Linked DNA regions of Homo sapiens: regions 1 and 2 are each linked to region 3. Evidence: promoter capture Hi-C in 16 types of primary human blood cells and fetal thymus (Javierre and others, 2016). All regions are on one chromosome and are shown on one strand. Each heading gives the region's core, a stretch centred on a gene start or on the middle of the fragment in contact. The rest is flanking DNA. Distances are from core to core; before and after follow the strand shown. Region 1 overlaps MAP3K7 (mitogen-activated protein kinase kinase kinase 7). Region 2 overlaps MAP3K7 (mitogen-activated protein kinase kinase kinase 7). Region 3 holds the start of RRAGD (Ras related GTP binding D).

Evidence for each region. The method cuts DNA at HindIII sites, captures the fragments that hold promoters and counts their contacts. A CHiCAGO score of 5 or more calls a contact.
Region 1: a contact is called between a fragment that was not itself captured here and the fragment with the promoter of RRAGD in region 3, in 1 of 17 cell types (total CD4 T cells). The highest score is 5.3, in total CD4 T cells.
Region 2: a contact is called between a fragment that was not itself captured here and the fragment with the promoter of RRAGD in region 3, in 1 of 17 cell types (naive CD4 T cells). The highest score is 6.2, in naive CD4 T cells.

What each region holds. Positions count from the first base shown.
Region 1 is chr6:90,521,397-90,525,236 of GRCh38, forward strand. It overlaps MAP3K7 (mitogen-activated protein kinase kinase kinase 7), which reads right to left. Exons shown (of 17, transcript NM_145331.3): 14 at 2,282-2,387. Among named protein-coding and RNA genes, the nearest start is that of MAP3K7, 64 kb to the right of the region's middle. The HindIII fragment of the contact is 5,232 bases long and covers 1-3,840 here.
Region 2 is chr6:90,539,289-90,543,022 of GRCh38, forward strand. The region is part of intron 12 of MAP3K7 (mitogen-activated protein kinase kinase kinase 7); the gene reads right to left. Among named protein-coding and RNA genes, the nearest start is that of MAP3K7, 46 kb to the right of the region's middle. RefSeq lists a silencer at 2,048-2,248. The HindIII fragment of the contact is 1,080 bases long and covers 1,721-2,800 here.
Region 3 is chr6:89,410,697-89,414,485 of GRCh38, forward strand. It overlaps RRAGD (Ras related GTP binding D), which reads right to left and starts at 1,577. Exons shown (of 7, transcript NM_021244.5): 1 at 1,150-1,577. The coding sequence starts at 1,297. RefSeq lists silencers at 534-633, 664-773, 804-1,993. The HindIII fragment of the contact is 2,415 bases long and covers 62-2,476 here.

The DNA of each region.
Region 1 (3,840 bases), core at 982-3,481, 1.1 Mb after region 3:
ACTATCTCATATTCTTTGAGTATGCATTCCCTTCAGTGGAATGCTGCCTTCTCCTTTCTGCTTTATGGCTAAAGAAAAGTCTCATCATTTTATGAAAAGGCCAGAGACTATGCCAAGTCTTGTTGAACTGATTTCTCTTACAACTATCAAAACACTCAGCTTGTACTATAAATTTAGTAAGTTATTATATAGTATAAGTTTACTTTTAATGTGTCAGTATTATGACTCTAACCAGACTGCAAGGAATGGGCCATGTCTTACACTTTATATTAATACATGTTTGCAAAGTACTAAGCAAAGGTGAAAATTCTTTAGTGAGTTTCCCCCTCTGCGGCTCCCTCTACTGCGTCTAGATCTCTCTCTCACTAGATCCTCTCAGTATGTGTGTCTTTTTGAATACCCATTATATTATAAATAGGAACTGAAGAGCGCTTATTATCGGCTATGATTATTAAATTGTTATGCTCTTTAGCTTTCTCTGAAAATATACAAAAACCTCTCAAATTAAAAAAATTTAATTAGGTCACTTTAACTTACATTTACACTCTTAATTTTTTCCTTGGTCAGTGGGCCTTCAAAGAAAAAGACTTTACCTATCTGTTCCCTAATTTATTCTATTAGCTTGGTTATCAATATTTTTCTTACAAATACTGCACAGCTGAATTAATTATAAACTTAAACCAGAGCATCCATTTTTAAAATGTATTCAAAATTATAGCCACACATGTGCAATATATTTCAAGGCAAAGACAAAATTCAGCTGATATTGCAAATTATTTCTAGCAATTGGTATTTTGTGGTGTTTCTAGGTACAGAAAAAGAAAACAATGGGACGGGAGTTGGAAGGTAGAAGCAACATATGAGGCAGAAATGTAGCAGTTATGTGAGAGAGAGCCTTAAACATTTTTTATTTTACCCCCATGAAGTCACAATCTGCCACACTATTGACTGGCATATACAGATTAGTGTAGACTGAAGACAGAAGGCTCTGCTGAGTTGAGTACCAGACCCGGGCAAATGCTGTAATGTCAGAGAACGTACTCCCTTGCCAGGGGGTTCAGAAATCAAAAAGAGCTGCTATCACCTGAATGTTAATGATAAAACTGGGCAAGAGCATTGCCCTGTCTACCACTGGGGAGGAGCAAGTCTATAATGAATTCTACACATGTGCTGCGTAGTGGTGAATGCTCTGGACAGTCCTAGGTTGGGCTGTGCTAGGGGTGAAACAGGAGTTTTTGCCGCCACTAAATTTAAACTTACTAAAACTAGAGAGTACACCCTGGCTAAACATAGTTCTATCTTACATGACACACAGAAAAACCACCCAGTTAATTTTTTAAATTAAATTATAAACTTGACCAAACCACATCAGATAACTATAAATACTTGAGTTGTATTTTAGTTTGTAAAGACAGAAAGCTGGCTTTTAAACTTCAATCTAATTGTTACTATTAATAACATAGTCGATCTTATATAAAATATCAAATGCTTTAATTTTCCAAGGGCTAAGAGATCATCTTTCCCTTCGTGACTTAATATAATATAAATAAAAAATTTCATAAGTACACTTAAAAGCATTTATCAAGGTATTCTCTTAAAGTTAGGGAAAAGTTAATTCTACTATGGCACATCATTTCCTGTTTGCCCATAATGAAACGATGCCGTCACTACCTTTAGGCAGGTAGACATTAATACTAATATTGTGAACAGTTAGTTATTCATGTTGGGGAGCTTTAATAACTCATCACAGGTTTCTAAAGGTCTAATAGAATATTTGTATAACTGAAAATGGTGTCTCTTATCAGTTAAAAACAATTCAAAAGGTCAATGGTCAGAATTTTTTTCAACTTAAGGTACATGACATCTCGTGTCCTTAAAAGATTGAGATGAAGATGATGGGGATGATTTTTACCATTCTCCGATTTTGGTTACTGAAAAAATGACTTTACTACTATCATCTAGTAGGATGAATCTAGTAGGAAAATCACAGGCTGAAGTATCAAGAATTCAATACGCTTCGCAACTGGAAAAAAACCCCAAACAGACAATCTTTAAAATACATGTTTAGTATCTGGATTAAAAAAAATACAGAAGGCAAGGCAGTCTCTGTCTCTGTATTCAAAATGGTATTTTAACATGTATTACTAAATAGTTTATTTAATATAAAAATCTAAACAACAGTATAATGCCTGCCTTTGTAAACATTAGAGTAATGACATGGCCAAATGAATATAAACATGACTGATTCAACTTCATAAGTATGAAGAAACAGACTGGTCACCTGTGGAATCATCAGGGGTCCATGGATGACTTCGAGTTGGCTTTTCTGAGGTTGGTCCTGAGGTAGTAATCATTCTGACACTGGGACTGGATGACCTACTGCTCACCTACAGGAAGAAGTCACAGGAGAAACAAAATGTGATTTTTTGATTAAAAAAAATGACGAGAACGTTTCCATTAAAAGGCAAGAAGAGACTTAGAGATCCCCCCAAAACTCTTGTAAACAACAAAATAAATCCTCTCTTATATATATGTAAAAATTTATATTCACTCACGCATGATACCTATTAAAAACTGATGAGCTTGCAAGAAACTAAGAAATACTCTGAGATTAGAAACAAAACAATATCAGGAAACTAGTAAGTGCTTAAGCTGACAGCCCTCGGAATTTCAACTAAACACCAATGGCCTAGAGCTACTGTTTTCACAGGCTGCTGCACTCAGAGGAATGGACCATAAAGCCTTGGGCCTTTGTAGGATGGAAGTAAGACTGGAGAAACCTCTGCTTAAAGCTAAAACTCAGCAAAGGCTTCACTCTCAGAGAAAAGGTCACTCAACTAGGAAAAAAAAAATCTGACCTACAAAAGCAGACAGGAAACAAATTTGTCTCTCTTGGGTTAGTGGCTCTGGGTGGAAGGGAGAAATGTATTAACTGTGAATCCACAAAAAATTTCCAGATTGGATGCAGGTTACAACAAATTCCAACCACAACAAATCCCCAGCATAAGAAATAGGAGGAAGCTCACAAATTGAGTTCAACATGGAACGTATACATTCAAATTCTAGGAAACAATCAACAGGAGACAGAAAAAGCAGCCAGAAGAAAGCAGAACAATATCTTCAAAGTGCTGAAAAATAACTGCCAGTCTAGAATTGTCTAGCCAACAAAATTTGAAGATAGAGGCCAAAATAACATTCTTAGATGGGCAAAAACTGAGTTTACCTTCCATACATTCTTACCACATAAGTTTTTCAAGCATGTATTTTTGGAAGAAGAAAAATTTTACTTGATAGAAGGATCAAGATGCAATAAGGAATAGTGATAAACAGGGAAATAAATCTACACACTGAAAACATTCAGTGACAGAAACAGTGAATTTATAGAATTATCAAACAAACAAGATGGCACTAAAATTATAATAACAATAGCACAAGCATGAAAAGCACTGACTTAAAACTCCTTGTTTTAAATATTGTTCAGGATGAGGGTACAGATCTTTACTAGGTTGGGCATGAATGTTAAAATTTCAAAGGTATTTACTAAAAGTAGTAATTAATATATAACTCCCAAACCAGAAAGAAAATAATAAAATGAAGAATAAATTTATTCAACTCAAAACTTGAAAGAAAAGAAAGAGAAATAAAACATAAGAGAGCAAACTTATCAGTAACCACAATAAATGTAAATGAATTACTCTCCAGTTAAGATATTTAAAAAAAAATCAGATTGTCAGGATGAATTAAATGCTATTTATAAGAGACATATCTAATTTACAGAGACAGAGAAAACAGAAAGTTAAAGGATAAAAAAAGAAAACCAGGCAAAAACTACCCCAAATA
Region 2 (3,734 bases), core at 1,011-3,510, 1.1 Mb after region 3:
TAGACTATACAATATGGCAGAAAGGCCACCTAAATATTCATTATAAAGTTAGATTAACTTCCCTATTTAATATGCCACAAATAGAGAATTTTATTGAAAGTGAGGTGGCTATACACAGAAACTAGTACAGTACATCTTAGTATAGCACCCCTTAGCCCTAGGATCCCTATCAAAGGCTTACATCTGCTAATGACACTATCTGTGCTAGGTGAGAACTTGCCAGATCTAGAAAAACTCAATTCTTTCTCTCTTTGCCTCTTCATATTGGTGCTGCAGTAGTCTGGAGGAAATATTTAATAACTTACATGCTTCCAGTTAAAGAAAGGTTTACAAACATTAGTTACCGACCGGCTCTTGAACCAAATATACTATTAAAAAAGTGATATTTTCATCCTGGTGGAGAAAGCAAAATAGTGCTCAGGTGTCCTTGAAAAGCATCTCTGCTTCCAGTTGTTTAAGCATTCTATAAAGCCCTCCCCACCTAGATAATTTATTTGCCAATACCTGACATTTGAAACTTCTGAAGGAGGGCAACAAGATACAAGTATTAGAAGCCTAACTACTCATCTATTTTTCAGTTAAAATGTTTGGGCCTCTCTACATTCTACTTACTCCAATTTACTACTTATCATACTGTTAGTAAAAAACCAATATACAATAGAGCTAAACGTCCTTGACTGAAATTAAAAGCGAATACGCGTTTTTTATTCAGTTAAGAGATCTAAATGCGGCTGAAATCATAAGGACACCTAAGGTTTCTTTTTAGCTTTAAGAATGATATAACAAACAATAAATATCAATTAAGTTCAGGTTCTTCAGGAAACTAGGCAAAAATCTTATCTATTTCAGTAAGATCTGACTCAAAAACATTTGTATATTCAATCTTCTTTTGCATATCCTTAAGAACAGTATGTAAGACAGAAAATCCTCTTTGGTCAAGGCATTTTATTGCTCTCGAATGTTATGCCATATTATTTTAGGCTTAGAAATAACAAAAGGTACACTAAAGCAACACTGTTCAAGGTTCTCAAATTGAAGCACTTCAAGGCAATGTTCATCTATAGAATGGATGGTTTTCAAGTACTTGAAATCAAGCATTATAATCTAATCTGAACTAAGAAATAAATTTATCTATGATGATATAATAGCATTAAAAATGTCTGTAATTTAGAAAATTTTACTTTTGCATATCACATTTGGGAAACTCATTTCACTTTATAAAAGCAATCAAGCCGGTATGAACCATGTACAACAAATTTTATATCAGAGTAGAAGTGCAGAAGACTAATGTTTAATTAAATCTTTTATAGGTGGTAAGTATATATGTATATGACAGTATTTTTTTCCAGTAGATTTTAGAATGCATTATAATTACAGTTTATTTCCTTAAATGCTATAACTACTCACACAAAGGCTCCAGAGCAGAACAACCCATCTTCCATTACTGATGCTACAAGCATGAAAAATAATTCGCTTTCTTAACTACTTATTCTCTTACTCTACATGTTAAACTGAAAAAGGTTGTTCCTCTTTTTTTGTAATATTTAGGCATTCTACCTGTTCCTCTTTGACATTTGGATTTTTAAAAGAAATGTAAAATTTAGGTATTCTTCTAACATCAGATGAACTGCATTAGAATGTCTTACATAGTTTCACAATCCCAATAATCTATTTCATTTGTGTACTTGAGATGAAGGTGGGTGAAAAATAGATTCTTGGAAGCTTAGATAGTGACAAAAAGAAAATATGGGAAAAAGTAAAGAAAATCCATGCAAAACAATGATCTGTGTTCTTACTGCCCTTATTAAAGTCCTAGAACAAAAAAAATCTAGAAAAACTTCAAAGAATCCAATAATCTGCTACCTATTCCCTTTTCTTCAAATATAAATGTAACAAATTAGATGTACTGGCTGAAAGGAGAAAGGATATGGTTTTTAAAACTCAAGTTTTAATAAAAAACATTTAAGAAAATCTATTTCTTTTCTCGAAGTCCCTTCCAACTTACCAGCAAGCAAATGCATTAGAAAACTGTAGTTCATATGGTCTAAATACTGGGCAAGAAACTTCCACATTTACATTTACTTTGCTTAGGTAGCACACTGCTACTTGGCAGGACCTTCTCTACAAAGGAAGAGTCAGCAAAATGTCACACACTCTACTGGTAATTTGCTCTTAGCTGCGTGTCTTCCTTGGTAAAAAGGAGCCAGGCTAATCTATAAAGCTCACTCTTTTAAGGGCAGATGGACAGTGGAAAGAAGGAAGGGTTACCGTACAAAAGTTTGTCAGTTCTTCAGAGCCAGTAATATGGTAGAAGAGGTATAAAAAATTGTACAGTCTGACCCACAGGGAGTCCTAAGGTATTAAAGGTTAATTTCTGTATGATCTGAGAGACTACTAAATTGATAAATAGTGCTGTTTTGCTAAGTTGCTTTTTCTTCCACATTTGACTGATGGCATAGTATACACATTTTGAAGAGCGAGCAAAAAACAAGATTACAAGATTAGGGTCTTTGCATTTCTTTACCTATGACTAGGTTAGACATTTTAGTGACTTTAAAGATATATATACAAAACCTTTTTTGTGATGCTTGAAGGATTGCTCTTATTAAGAGAGGTAGTTCATTCCAAGAAGTACATTAGACTCAGTACATTGCACTTGGCCAAAGGGAAGTATTAACGAAACTCTTATCCATGTAAATAAGATCTTTAAAAAGCTATATTTAAAAAGAATCCTTGCAATTGGGTTTTAATGCTAATTAAACAGTTTGAATATATCAAGAAGTATTTGCTAATACCATAAAGCTTGTGGGAAATCCACTTAGAACAAAACAATTTCTAGAAAGTATTAAGAAATTTTGGAAATTAAGTATCACCCTTCTTTACAATTAAAATGTCATGTAGGAAATTTGAGATATTCCCAAAGGATGGGCGGTATTTTTATATTTAATTTAAAAACATTACCTATGAGCACATTCATGATTGGCTTTTATGTCCACTAGTGTCAATTCTACAGCTTGTATTCTTCTATTAAAGAAAGTGCACCTGAGTAAGTTAATGTTTGATATCTGAGGGGGGAAAAGCCTAAAAAGAATATTTAATAAAAGGTATTACTGAATAATATTTTCATATGAATAGCACTGCTGCTCTGGCAATTAAGAGAATTAAGGTTACCTGATTCCATAAAGGCCCAATGTCATAAAAGAGGATCTCCCTGGCTGAAGAGCTCTCCTTAATGTGAACACTAAGAGAAAGCAAGAAGAAATTACTCTAGCTTCTCTGACTTAAACAAAAGAACAAAAAATGGATGTGACTTGGAGTCAGAAGATCTGGGTTGGGGTCCTGGCTATATGATTCTGGAAAAACCACTAAACATCATCAGATCTAAGTTCTTCGTCTGTTAAACAGCTATAATTTCATCCGATAACCTAGTTGTAAGATTGTATAAAGGTAAAATAAGATGTACTTTAAGCTACTTTGTAGGGCACAAAGAACATCTAATCAGGGGTTTTCAGCCTCAGCACTGCTGCCATTTTGGGCTGGATCATTCTTTGTTGGAGAAGACTGCCTGGTACACATCAGGATGTTTAGCAGCATCCCTGGTCTCTGCCCACTAGATGCCAGTAGTACCTGACAGTTATAAACTATTATTCTTTCCTTATTTTTCCCTCCCCCATTATCTTGTATAGCGTGGGCTACGCTGCCATATATAAATTTATTCTTAATGCTTAGTCATA
Region 3 (3,789 bases), core at 327-2,826:
TCTGATTCATTGAAAGTCGTGCCTGCCAGATGTAGAATAATGAAACTACCCTAGTGAGAAAAGCTTTGCATAGAGAATTTAAAATAAGTTCAGTGAATTCTCAATAAAAGTTCTTTAAAAATCAATAGTCACAAAGGTACTTGTATCTCTCACACAATTTCTTCAGTGTGAAACATTAAAGTTAGTTCCTTCTCTTGGATGCATACAGTTTCACTGAGAATAACATCATGTTTAACAGCCGCTTTCTATTGACCTTTCCAAGTGACCTTACAGTAAAGGAACTTTTGCTCGCTTCTGAGGGAAACTAAAAAAAGTTTAACCTCTCTGGAATACTAAAAGGCTCTCAACTTCCTTACACCTTAAGAAAATGCAGGAAGCCCCCACAAGCTGAACGATTGCTAAAACCCGCTTCTAGAACAGGAAAAAGAGTTTGCTTCACTATTGAAGCAAAGAATTCCCCGCCGCGCGCTCACTCCCGGGCAGGCACTGCCATGTCCAGGTGGTGATACCGAGAGCAGATAAGGTGTCCTGACAACGGTGTTTGCGTGGATCCCGGGAAATCTGCGGCCTCTCGGAGACTCCCACAACAGCTTGGCGAGCATCCCCCCGCCGCCCCGCGGGTCTCCCCAGCCACTACCTGGGTGGGCCCCTCCCGCGGCGACGCGGGGCGAGACTGACACCCGCAGCTGCCGACGACCCTGCCAGTCACGCCGCCGCCGGCTGCCTTTTTTTAGCCACGACATCTGACCCTGGCTTCAACAGCACCGTTCTGGGAGAGAGGTCCCAGGGCGCGCCCGCGGTCCCCTCCCCTCCCCAACCGCCAGACGCTGCGGAGAGCTTGGGGTGAGGGGCGCGGGAGGCACCGGCTCTGAAAGGGGCAGAAGCGCGCGCTCCTCCAGCCCAGACGCTTACTCCCTCCTTCCCCTTTTCCACCGATCCTGGTTGCCCCTCCGCCACCAGCACCGCGCTCCCTCATTTGGCAGCTCGAGGTCGGGCTTTTGGCGTCCCTCCCCACCCCAAACCCTCAACTGGACCCGCTCCCCTGGACCCCCTCCAAGTCGGTGGCTCGCGCACGGCCGGGCTGGGGGCGGGAAGGCGCCAAGGGGAGGAAAGGGGCGCGAGCCGAGGACGCGGGGGCCGGGCGCTCACCTCCCTCCTCTGTGCCGCTGTCCGGATCGGCGTCGGAGGAGTCGGGCCCGTCTCCGTAGTCCGCTAGCCCCACCAGCTCATCCTCCTCCTCCTCCTCCTCCGCGTCGTCCTCGTCCTGCGGCTGCGGCTTCCCCAGCACCTGGCTCATCGTGCCCACCGGCCGGCCGGCCCGGGGACGGCGGGGGTCCCGGGGTGGGGGCCAAGCCTCCTAGCCGGCCGCCCGCAGCCTATTTCTGAAGCGGAGGTTTGTCTAGAGCTCAGCGGGGCCCGGCGGAAGCGGGGGCCGCGCGTCCCCCGGCGGGCGGCGCCCAGGTCCGGGTCCCGCGGTTCCCAGCGCGCCCGAAGCCCCCTCCCCCGCCCCGCCCGCCGGCGGAGGAGTCAGCCGGAGCGCGGCAGTTCCTCCCGGAGGAGGGAGAGAGAGAGAGACTGCGTGACCCGAGTCACCTGACACACACTGTCACATACTCACATACACACCCCGCACGGGCGCGCGCGCGCTCGCCCGGCCGCGGGCACCACTCGGCGGGGCGCTGGGCCGAGGACACACATGCACACGCACACGCACACGCACGAGGAGACCGGGGAGGCGCGGGGCCCCTGCACCCTCCCAGACTCACACCGACACACGCCCCGTACACGGGGCCCCCGGGACGCCGGCCGTCACCCACCGCGGCTGCGCGCCAGGGGCCCCCACGCGCCTCTCCTTCACGTGGTCCCCGCACAGGCAGGGGAGGGGGCGCCGCACACCCTCAATGTCCCCCCCGCCGTCCCACTCCCACACGCCCGCAGAGCGTCTACCGTGGGCGGATGCCTCCTGCTTACAGTCCTGAGCTAGGGTCCCAAGCGGGTGGCCTCCCAACACTGTGGCGCCCAGATCCCCCACCCCAGAGCAGCGTGCCCAGGACACCCTGTGGACGCTCAAGAGCCCCAGGCGGAGAACTCAGATAAATGCACAGTGGAGGCGCAGTCTCCATAGCAATTGTCTTTTAGTGTGCCTTTATGGTTCAAAGTGCTTCCCACCAAGAATATTTAAAAAGCAGGCCTACCCAGACGTAAATGTTTCTGAAGAAATCACATGACTCGTGGCTGCTTAGACTAAATAATTCCTCTGCAGCCCTTTGGAAAAGGTCTCAGTGTATAACACACTCGGGGGCTATTCATGGCCACCTCCTCATGTCTCATTGTTGCATAGACTGTAATCCCACATGAATAAAATATTTCAAGGCTTTTGTGGGAGTAGGGGAGTGGCGGTGGTGGGGGGGCAATTCTCAAATAGGAATAGCAGCAACGTGGAGTGAGACTCTAAAACCTGCATTCCTCCTTCACAAGCTTTTCACCACGGAACACACTGTACCCACCCTTTCTGGGTACTGCAAAAAATTACGTGGATGAACTTCCTTCTGTGGAGCACAATAAGAAAAAACCGGCCGGTCAGCATGATGATCCAGCTCCTACAGGTGCCAGCAGCTCAGCCGGTGGTGCGGTGCAGAAGCGGAGGGAGGAAGCTAGGGCAGGAGACTCTCAGGGCCCAAGGGTGCTAACCTCCATAGGAAACATTTATTAACCACCTCCTATATGCCTGAGGCTGGGCTAAGTAGAGGGTCCAAGAATGCTCAGGGCAGTGTTCCTGCCCTGAAGGAGCTCACAGTCTACCAAATCATGACTCATGTCCTGGATTTTTTTTAGTATTTCTGAGTGCAGAAGGTGGATGCAGACACTTTCCAGAAGGTGGCTGCTTCTAATGGGAAAGGTCCTGAGATTTTCCAAGGGAGGCAGGCAGTATAATTTGGTATGACTGTATCAGTTAAGGTTCTTCCCAGGATGAAACAGACGGTATGTGCAAAGACTTTAACTGAAGCCTTCAAGTGAAGGAACAATTTACAGGGGTGTGGACAGAGTTTAGGGAATCAATGCAGGTATTAGCGATAGTGGGAAGATAACACCACCCCTAAATTTACAGGAGTGAGGAAGGGAGCTAGAGTCCTGGAGAGGGGCCACAAAACAGGAGCTGTAACTGATGAGGAAGCTGCTGCTGCCAGAACGGCCTCACATCAAGGAGAGAGCAAAGACCTCTCTTTCTCTCCATCCATCCTCCCTCCACTCTCCTGTGTCTCCCATTGGCCAAACCCATCTGGTAGCCAGAAGGCAAGGGAGCCTGGAACCTAGTCCAGGACAGAGATTGGATAGGGAGGGCAGGGAGTGGGTCCCTGGGTGGGGTGAGGTGCAAGGAGCATCACCAACACAAGCAGGCACTACATACTCCCATCAGAGGCAAGTTACTTATGCCCTTCTAAACCCGATTGCTTATCAATAGAACATCACTCCTTCTAAGGATTATTAGGAAGATTAAATGAGGCGGAAAAAAAATCTCAGGTACTTACAAAGCTCATTTCCTAGGAGTAATTTTCCTAGCCTATTTTCATCCCTTCCGTCAAAGGAAACCCCAGGGAGGAGGGCCTCCCAGAGTGTGGCTGAGGACTTTCAGCTATTCTATAGCTAGCCCACCATCCTCAAGTGGCCTTTGAACTGGTCTGATTCAAACTGCAAATAACAATTTAGGAGATCTAGAAGACTGTCCAAGGTCAACCCAGACTCAGACGTATAGGGCATTCCTGGGCAGGTTGCCAAGTGTGTAAGACC